Linked DNA regions of Homo sapiens: regions 1 and 2 are each linked to region 3. The links are contacts of gene promoters, found by promoter capture Hi-C in blood cells and fetal thymus (Javierre and others, 2016). All regions are on one chromosome and are shown on one strand. Each heading gives the region's core, a stretch centred on a gene start or on the middle of the fragment in contact. The rest is flanking DNA. Distances are from core to core; before and after follow the strand shown.

What was found. Contacts are between HindIII fragments. The CHiCAGO score rates a contact against its expected background, and 5 or more counts as called.
Region 1: a fragment that was not itself captured here is called in contact with the fragment with the promoter of HTATIP2 in region 3 in 1 of 17 cell types (total B cells); the score reaches 8.7 in total B cells.
Region 2: the fragment with the promoter of CCDC82 here is called in contact with the fragment with the promoter of HTATIP2 in region 3 in 1 of 17 cell types (total CD4 T cells); the score reaches 5.1 in total CD4 T cells.

The regions. Positions count from the first base shown.
Region 1 is chr11:124,954,132-124,956,963 of GRCh38, forward strand. It overlaps CCDC15 (coiled-coil domain containing 15), which reads left to right and starts at 71. Exons shown (of 16, transcript NM_025004.3): 1 at 71-239; 2 at 593-778. The coding sequence starts at 602. RefSeq lists an enhancer at 1-274. The HindIII fragment of the contact is 1,363 bases long and covers 570-1,932 here.
Region 2 is chr11:96,388,662-96,391,361 of GRCh38, forward strand. It overlaps CCDC82 (coiled-coil domain containing 82), which reads right to left and starts at 1,251. Exons shown (of 10, transcript NM_024725.4): 1 at 1,183-1,251. JRKL (JRK like) reads left to right here and starts at 1,352. Exons shown (of 2, transcript NM_001261833.2): 1 at 1,352-1,412; 2 at 1,822-2,700. The coding sequence starts at 1,989. RefSeq lists a silencer at 1,165-1,424. The HindIII fragment of the contact is 1,223 bases long and covers 809-2,031 here.
Region 3 is chr11:20,362,273-20,364,972 of GRCh38, forward strand. It overlaps HTATIP2 (HIV-1 Tat interactive protein 2), which reads left to right and starts at 1,442. Exons shown (of 5, transcript NM_001098522.2): 1 at 1,442-2,160. The coding sequence starts at 1,966. RefSeq lists silencers at 1,443-1,862, 1,649-1,791. The HindIII fragment of the contact is 1,649 bases long and covers 342-1,990 here.

The sequences.
Region 1 (2,832 bases), core at 1-2,500, about 100 Mb after region 3:
GATGGGCGGGACGGAGCAGCCCACCGCAAAGTGGCGGTCTACTTGAGGCGGTTACCTTAGTACTCCGAGTAGACTGAGTCTGTGGCGAGCTGCGGGCCGATTCCTGGCCAGTGCCATCTCAGCCGGAGCAGGCCTCGGGGCCTCAGAAGCAGGCTTTTATCTGGCCCGAGGCTCCCAGCCGTTCAGCGCGTCTTCCCATAACCTATACCGATTATTGGGACTCTCGGCTGCAGACACAGGTCCCCGCCCCTCCCTCTTTCTCCGGGTTGCAGCTGTCATTCCTCCCTTCCCGCCTCGCTGCGCCCACAGCTGAGGACAGTCTTCGTTCTCTCATTCCCATCCTTTCTCTTCCCTCTCATCGCCATTTCTTCTAGAAGGCAACTTAAAAACCTTTCTTTGCCTCTTTATTTCTTCCCATTTCTCTTCCCTTCTTTTCTTCCTTTTTCTCTAGAATCCGTGTGTTTCCACTTCATGCCAGGCTTCTGCCTCCAGGGCTTCTCTCCTTTTCACGGGCCTGTGGCTCATGTGTTAGGAGGTTGAACTTTTAATGCAGTCATTTGAAGATTTTAAGCTTTTTCTTTCTCCTAATCAGGAGTCACAGATGCTGGGAAGTATGGCCCGAAAGAAACCTCGAAATACCTCAAGGTTGCCCCTGGCTTTAAACCCCCTGAAGAGCAAGGACGTGTTGGCAGTGCTGGCTGAGAGGAACGAGGCTATAGTACCAGTTGGGGCATGGGTGGAACCTGCCTCACCAGGTAGTTCGGAAATCCCAGCATATGTGAGTGTCAGTTTGATCCAAATATGGTGGGGTTCCCCACCACCCTTTTTATTAGCCTTCTCTAATCCTGGGTGCTTAAAGATGAACAGTCCGAGGATGCTGTTTCTATTCTGCCATAAATAGTTTATGCTCTTGCATTAGGATTATAGAACAAGTATTTGCCAAAACTTGACTGCAGCTTTAGTTGGCATAATCAAATATTTATTACTCACCTACTATAATATATAGAGCATAATCTACATGGAACAGGTTATATAGATATATATCTGTATATCAGTTTACTTCAGACTCTTGATTGCTTGTTATGCCCAAGACATAAGCACTATCTACATCTTCCAGACACTGCAACTTAGTATGGATGATAGTTGGCATACTTCAAGTAACATTAATTGGTTGCTTAAGGTTTATGATAAATTTTGTAATGAGGATTCAGGCAAAATGGAGTAATAGAATAAAGGAGAAAGAGATGAACTCTGATAATCTGAGAAAGTCTAACTAGAAATTCCATGGTTTCTGATAGTCTTTCACCAAACTGTGCCCCTTAGCTATTTGTTCAAATTTAACTTGGCACTTACCACATTGTGTTATAGTAGATTGTTTATATATCTTTTCCTGATGCAGTGTGAGCTCCTTGAGCGTAGAGAACAAATGTCATTTATCATCACATTCCCACTTTTATCTTAAATACTGCCTAATCAATATAGACACTCATGAAGTATTTATGAAAGGCACAAAATGTCTTCTGTATGTGTAGACAAGGTGCTGAACATGGATGAAAAAAGGATGAGATATGTTCCCTCAGTGTACTTGATCTCAGAAGAGAAATGAGATGTGTTTAAATGTTAAAGTAATGCAATATACTATATTCATTTTATTTATGTTTGCACATATGTATGTATATTCATTGATTTATTCCTACCCTGCCTATTTCCAAAAAGGATTTTAAGAGTCTAGGTGGTATCTCTATCTAAGTTCTAAGAATATAATGCTCAATCAAGAAGCTATGACGTTGGGTTGATGTGACCCAGGAAAGTGTAATGAAGAATTTGATCGGAGAAGGGAAGGGAATGATTCTCCTATTAAGGAGAATGAGGAGAGTAAGAAGTAAGCAAGGTTCAGGATTCTAAGGGTAGATTAGATCGATTGGAGTGGAAAGCTTAGTAGGAGAATGGTTGCTGACAGGATTATGGAAAATAGGGATGGTAGAGTACCTTAGGAAATTTTGGAGAAGGGATTGACTTTGTTTAATATTTACAGGTGAATGTCATGATCAACCAGTGTTTTCTTTAGATGAATTGCTTCAAAGGTTTTGAAGGATAGGGAGTGATTGGATCCTGGGGATAAATTAGAATATAATTATAATAATTTAAGCATGGAGTATAGCATCGAAACTTTGTTAGTGGTAAGAAATAGAGAAGAACAGCCTTGAAAAAGGATGATTGAAGTGCTTGAGCCCACGAATTGTAGGCTGCAGTGAACTATGATCATACTACTGCACTCTAGCCTGGGCAATAGAGTGAGACCCCATCTCTGGAAAAAAAAAAGGAGTGGAATGAGAAGGGATGAATGCAGGAAACACCCCACAAGACTTGGTAAGATTTGGTATAAAGATATTTTGGTATTTAAGTTGTTGACACCTCTTTGTAATTGCTCAAATTACATCTGTATAATATCAGTAGTGTCAACATGCCTAAAATTTGACACCATCAAACTTTTTCTATGTTAAGAAGTATTGACTATCGTATTCACACACATTAACTCAAAATATTAAAGTCTTGGAACATGGATAAACATATCTCCTTTTCCTGATTTAAAAATTTCTGATCAGTTCCAGCCAAAGGGAGTTTGATCAAGCATCTAATAGAACTCCTTATAGCTTTAGCATATCTAGTCTGGGTATCCACCCTTATTAACGGATATAGCTCTGTCAGCTCAAAATAAATGCTGAATAGTTACTTCTAAAGCTTGGCCCTTAGATCATGTCTGTTCTAAAGGGGAACTTCTACTCATTTTTCTCCCCAAAATTTCAGGGGGCCATCAGGATTCCTAAAAAT
Region 2 (2,700 bases), core at 1-2,500, about 76 Mb after region 3:
CTCAAGAAAAGATTCATTCTAGAAATCACCTACTTGCTGTATAAACAATGCAGGTGGTAGTTAACACTTTACAGATTTGAAAGGCAGTGGAACCCCAGGTCATTATTTGAAATTCTACCAGGAGGGATCCATTCTTGGGTGTAAAACATCACTCCTCTTCGATGTTTTCTTTTATATGGCAGTTTGGAGAGCAAAGATTAATAAGCCGAAAAATAATTATTGAATATCTACCAAAATGCAAGCACCTGCTAGGAACTGTGCTGCCACCATTTCAAATAAACATGGTCTCTGCTCCCAAGGAGCTCACAATCTGATGAAATTACTAGGGACACCAAAAACAAGCCAGCATAATACACGATTTGAGGGCTACAGTGTATGATTAAGATCAAGTTCTTATCACACTGCTATGAATAAATTTATCATAGTTCTTCTATTGGCAGGAAAACAAGACAGAACATGACAGAAATAGGATATAAGAAAATAAACATAAAGAGAGGAAAGCCTATTTCCCCCACTTAGAATCACAGTCCAACAGTCCACAATTTCGCAAAGTGGATCCTGCCAGCATGGTATCCGGGATAACTATATTATTCATTAAAATCCGTTAACAATGAAGGTTAATGCAGCAGGAATGAGTGGTAGACAGTGGAATAGATCCTCTCAGGAATTAACACCCGGAAGGGTGACTTTCATGATTACAAACCTCTTTGGCGGGACGCAGGAACCCAGCGCCCGCTAGCCCACTAGTCCGTCACTCTGCCTCCAGGAGGGAGGGGCACAGTAGCTAGGAAACCGGACCCTCAGGCCAAGCTTCGCGATGACGCGCGCAGGACGACGGAAACCCCCAGACCCCAAAAGAGCTCTGCACCGAGAAAACAATTACAAGGGTCTGGAAAGGCCAGAAACCCGAGAAATCACCAACCGAGCTCCCTACATCAGTTCCAAGCACCTCCCCAAGGCGGAAATAACGGGCACCGCGCCCACTGCAGCTCAGCTGAGGAGGGTTAGAGGCGCAAAGGGCTGAGGGGCGTTCTCCGGCCCACCCAAAGAGCGCCCGCGGGAATTTTTCTCTTAGTCCGCGAGGAGGCACGGCTTCCCCCGCCCCTCTCATAAACCATTAGCACCGGGAGCGCGAGCGAGTCCCAGCCGGGAGACAGCCCCGCACCGCCCTCGCGCTCTCACCTTTCAAAGCGCCTCCACCTCTGCCTCCGCCTCCGCCCCTGCCCCGGCAACCAGCTCAGGACAAGCGATGCTCCTCCCCCCCTTCCGGGGACCAAGGGAAGTCCCGCCTCTGGGTGGGGCGAGGGGTGGGGCCAGGCGGCGGGAGGGATCATCTTCCGGGAGCGTGGCTAGGGGCGGAGCGACTGCCGCGCGATAGTCAGGGAGCTGTGCGGGTCCTGGTTGCAAGAGAGGTGGGGAGAGGGGCCTGGCGGGTTTTGAGGGACTGGGAGGACTGTCCCGGCTAAAGCTGGCGCGGGAAACTGGGGCTGCGCGGCGGGAGGGCCCTGCTGCTGGGGAAGGAATCTAATATATCCGTTCCCCTGAGGAAGGGTGCCAGTCCTTGACTCCTAGGCTCTTCGGCTCTCTGTCGTAACTTTGGGGTGTGGCAGGGGTTAGTGACGCGCGGTTACCCGGGATCTGGACGTGCAGGAGGTTCGTGGCCACAATGGGGGTATAGTCTTTCTCACGGCTGCTGGGGTAATAAAACACATGCTTTTAATCCGGATTATCCGCGGTGACATGGGGCCTCCGCTACTGCCCGTATAAGTTAAAGAAAGGCCTGTTCTCTCAAACTTCCTCCTCTTTCACCTTCTTCTGCAGTCTATTTGCCAGCCAACCCCAGCCCGGGAGGGGATCAGGGCCACCAGGTTGCTGGTAAGGATGAAAGACTGAGTGTGTTAAGACTGTTGAAGTGAGCCTGTGTAAGAGAAGGAAGGATTTTGTGGATTGCTACATTGTGAGTGTGGGGTGAGTCCCAGAACCTCGCTATGTCAGGGAAACGGAAGCGTGTGGTGTTGACTATTAAAGATAAGCTTGATATAATAAAGAAACTTGAAGACGGAGGTTCTTCCAAACAACTGGCAGTGATTTATGGAATTGGTGAAACAACAGTTCGGGATATAAGAAAAAATAAGGAAAAGATTATAACTTATGCAAGCAGTTCTGATTCCACAAGTCTTTTGGCCAAGAGGAAATCTATGAAGCCATCCATGTATGAGGAATTGGACAGGGCAATGCTGGAATGGTTCAACCAGCAAAGAGCAAAAGGGAATCCCATATCTGGACCAATTTGTGCAAAAAGGGCAGAGTTCTTCTTTTATGCTTTGGGAATGGATGGTGATTTTAACCCCTCTGCCGGTTGGCTAACTCGTTTTAAGCAGCGGCACAGCATTAGAGAGATTAACATTAGAAATGAAAGATTAAATGGAGATGAGACTGCGGTGGAAGATTTTTGTAATAACTTTCGAGATTTTATTGAACGAGAGAATTTACAGCCTGAACAAATCTACAATGCAGATGAAACTGGACTCTTTTGGAAGTGCTTGCCTTCTAGGATTTCAGTAATCAAAGGTAAATGCACTGTCCCTGGGCACAAATCAATTGAAGAAAGAGTCACAATCATGTGTTGTGCCAATGCAACAGGTTTACACAAACTTAAACTTTGTGTTGTGGGGAAAGCAAAGAAACCTCGCTCCTTTA
Region 3 (2,700 bases), core at 192-2,691:
TATCTTGTTTTTGGTGGTGGTTATTTAGGTGTATATACAATCTCCTAAAATCATGGAACAGAACCTTTAGGTTCTGTACATTTTATTGTATATTAATTATGCCACAATTTTAAACAAAGGGGAAGAATAGACAGGGTACAATGAATAATTTCTGTGACAGATTTGATAAATGAATTACTAGGACAGTGTTTGCTGACAAGGTTTAACATTGCATTCTTGTAGAAAACCTTTAGGAACTCAAAGGGAAGAGTCCAGGCACTGTGACAGGCCAGTGGGGAATGAACCACACTGCTCTATATTAATCAAGCTTTTTTATTGCAAACAACAGAATATATCTGGTAAGCTTATACAGCACAGGAATTTATCAGAAGAATAACAGGAAGTACTGTATTCACAACAGTCTCTGAAAACAGGCAGGAATTTAAGACAAGATCAGACCATCAGATGGCTGGTGGATCATATGATGCCATAATCCTATACCCTTGCCCCAACCAACCCACATATATCTCAGGCCTTCACTGCATCTTTTCATTACTCCTCCAAAACTGAAAACCTATGCGTGAGCCTCTGGCTTGCTGAGCCTAGGCAAAGCCTACATATAATAACTCCCATGGAGATGGAAGAGGCAATGTGTTTCATTGGCTTCTAGATGGGAGGTGGGGCCCCCAAATGACCAATGTTCCCAACAAAACCTGAACAATCTGAAATTATTCAGATTTCTGCTTGTCATTCTAACCTCTGTTCAGGACTTCCAAGATCCAGGACAGGCCCAGTGTAGATACCTGTGTCCCAAACCACTGATCTGGGCTAGGAAGACTGAATCACAGGTGTGGAAGGTCACCCGGGTTCAACCATCTAGGTGATGAATTAGGCCAGGACCTGGGCAGGTAGACCATTTATTCTGGGGAGATATGATGCGAGCTTGAATTACATGGGAGAAATATTTGTAAGGCAGATGGGATAACAGGACTTGATAAGTCTGTAGTGTGGAAAGGCTAGAAAAGAAAGGAATCAAAGGAATCCTGATTTCTGACTTGACAGGGTAGAAGGAGGTGTGTGTGTGTGTGCGTGTGTGTGTGTATGTTTATGTAGGGACAGTGACACCCAAGAGAGGCTAGGAATAGGTTTGTTTTATTCCTGTTTGGGGTGGTTGGGTAGGCAGGGTTAAGTTTTTGACTTGGTGAATTTGAGATGATGGCCAATATACAATTGACATTCCAGCTGGGGGGACCATTGAAGATCAAGTCTGGCAAGTCTACTAGCTGGCGCCTGGGTGAGCTGAGCCCAGCAGGTGAGGGAAAACGCGGGAAGAGGGTCTTGCAGATTCCAAACTTAGGAAGGGTCGCGGCTCCGCGCACGTGCTCTCGGGGTCACCTTCCCCGCGCCTGTGAGGGTGCCAGGAGTTCGTCTCCAGGTCCCGCCCCTGTGGGCGGGGCGAGGCAGCGTCGCCGCGAGGCCACCCGGAAGACCAAGCCGGGTAGGCGCTGTCTCCGTCGCCTCCAACCCCCCCGGTCCGACCAGGGAAGGTGGGATGCTCTGATGGCCGGGCCTGCGGCGCTGAGCGCGGCGGCGGCGGCTGCTCTGGCGGCCGCCCTGCTCCTGCTGCGTCGTGAGGACCCGGGGCCGGGGGCTGGCCCCAGGTAACCCCTCCGCGTATGGGACCGAGCTGGGCCAGGTCTCCTGGCCGGGCCGGGGATACCGTGGGGTATGCCCAGTGATGCCAGCAGCTTGTGGCACCTGGGCGCACCCTCCAGCTCGGGCCCCTTCCGATGGGTCTGCTGGCTCAGGTGCGGGCGATGGCCGGGGAGCCGCGCCCCGCACGTGACTCAGCACTTTCCCCAGAGCCCGGACTGCGGAGAACAATATCCTCCTCCCTAACAGATAAACAGCCCTTGTTCCTCGGGATAAGGACTGGCAGTCCCCTGACACCCTAAGACCGGCATCTGTCGATGTTATTTCCCCAGCATGGCCGAAACAGAAGCCCTGTCGAAGCTTCGGGAAGACTTCAGGATGCAGAATAAATCCGTCTTTATTTTGGGCGCCAGCGGAGAAACCGGCAGAGTGCTCTTAAAGGAAATCCTGGAGCAGGGCCTGTTTTCCAAAGTCACGCTCATTGGCCGGAGGAAGCTCACCTTCGACGAGGAAGCTTATAAAAATGTGGTGGGTATTTCAGCTGGGACTCAAATGGACCCCCAGGATTCTGCGAGGTGAACATATTTCATGCCTAAAGGCTGAATACTGCCCTGCCAGTGGTGGGGGTAGTGAGAGGCCATCAAAACTTGGCCAAGATTGGTCTGTGAGAGTCCCTCCCAGAAGTCTGACTCCTGGATTGTAGCCCAGGTGTGCCTCCCTCCCGCTCATTGTGTGGTCTTGGGCAAAGCCCTTCTCTCCATCTGCAACCCTATAAAGCTGGGTCTGGGTTGTAATGGGGGTGGGGGCTGGTGAGACAGAAGAGCACTGTTTTCAGGGTCATACAAGCTGTATTCTAGAGGCAGCCCTGGTGACCTTGAGAATTTTCTCAGCCACTTTGCTGATTTTGTCAACCTGCGCACTTCACACTAATATTGTCAGGGATTCTGAAACTGCTTTGCAGAGTGAGATAGGTCTATGGCAGTGAAAGGTGGGATTATTCACTTACAAGAATTTGCCCTGCCTGACTTCCCAGGCTTGTGTCTGTAAATCGGATATTCCCTTCACTCT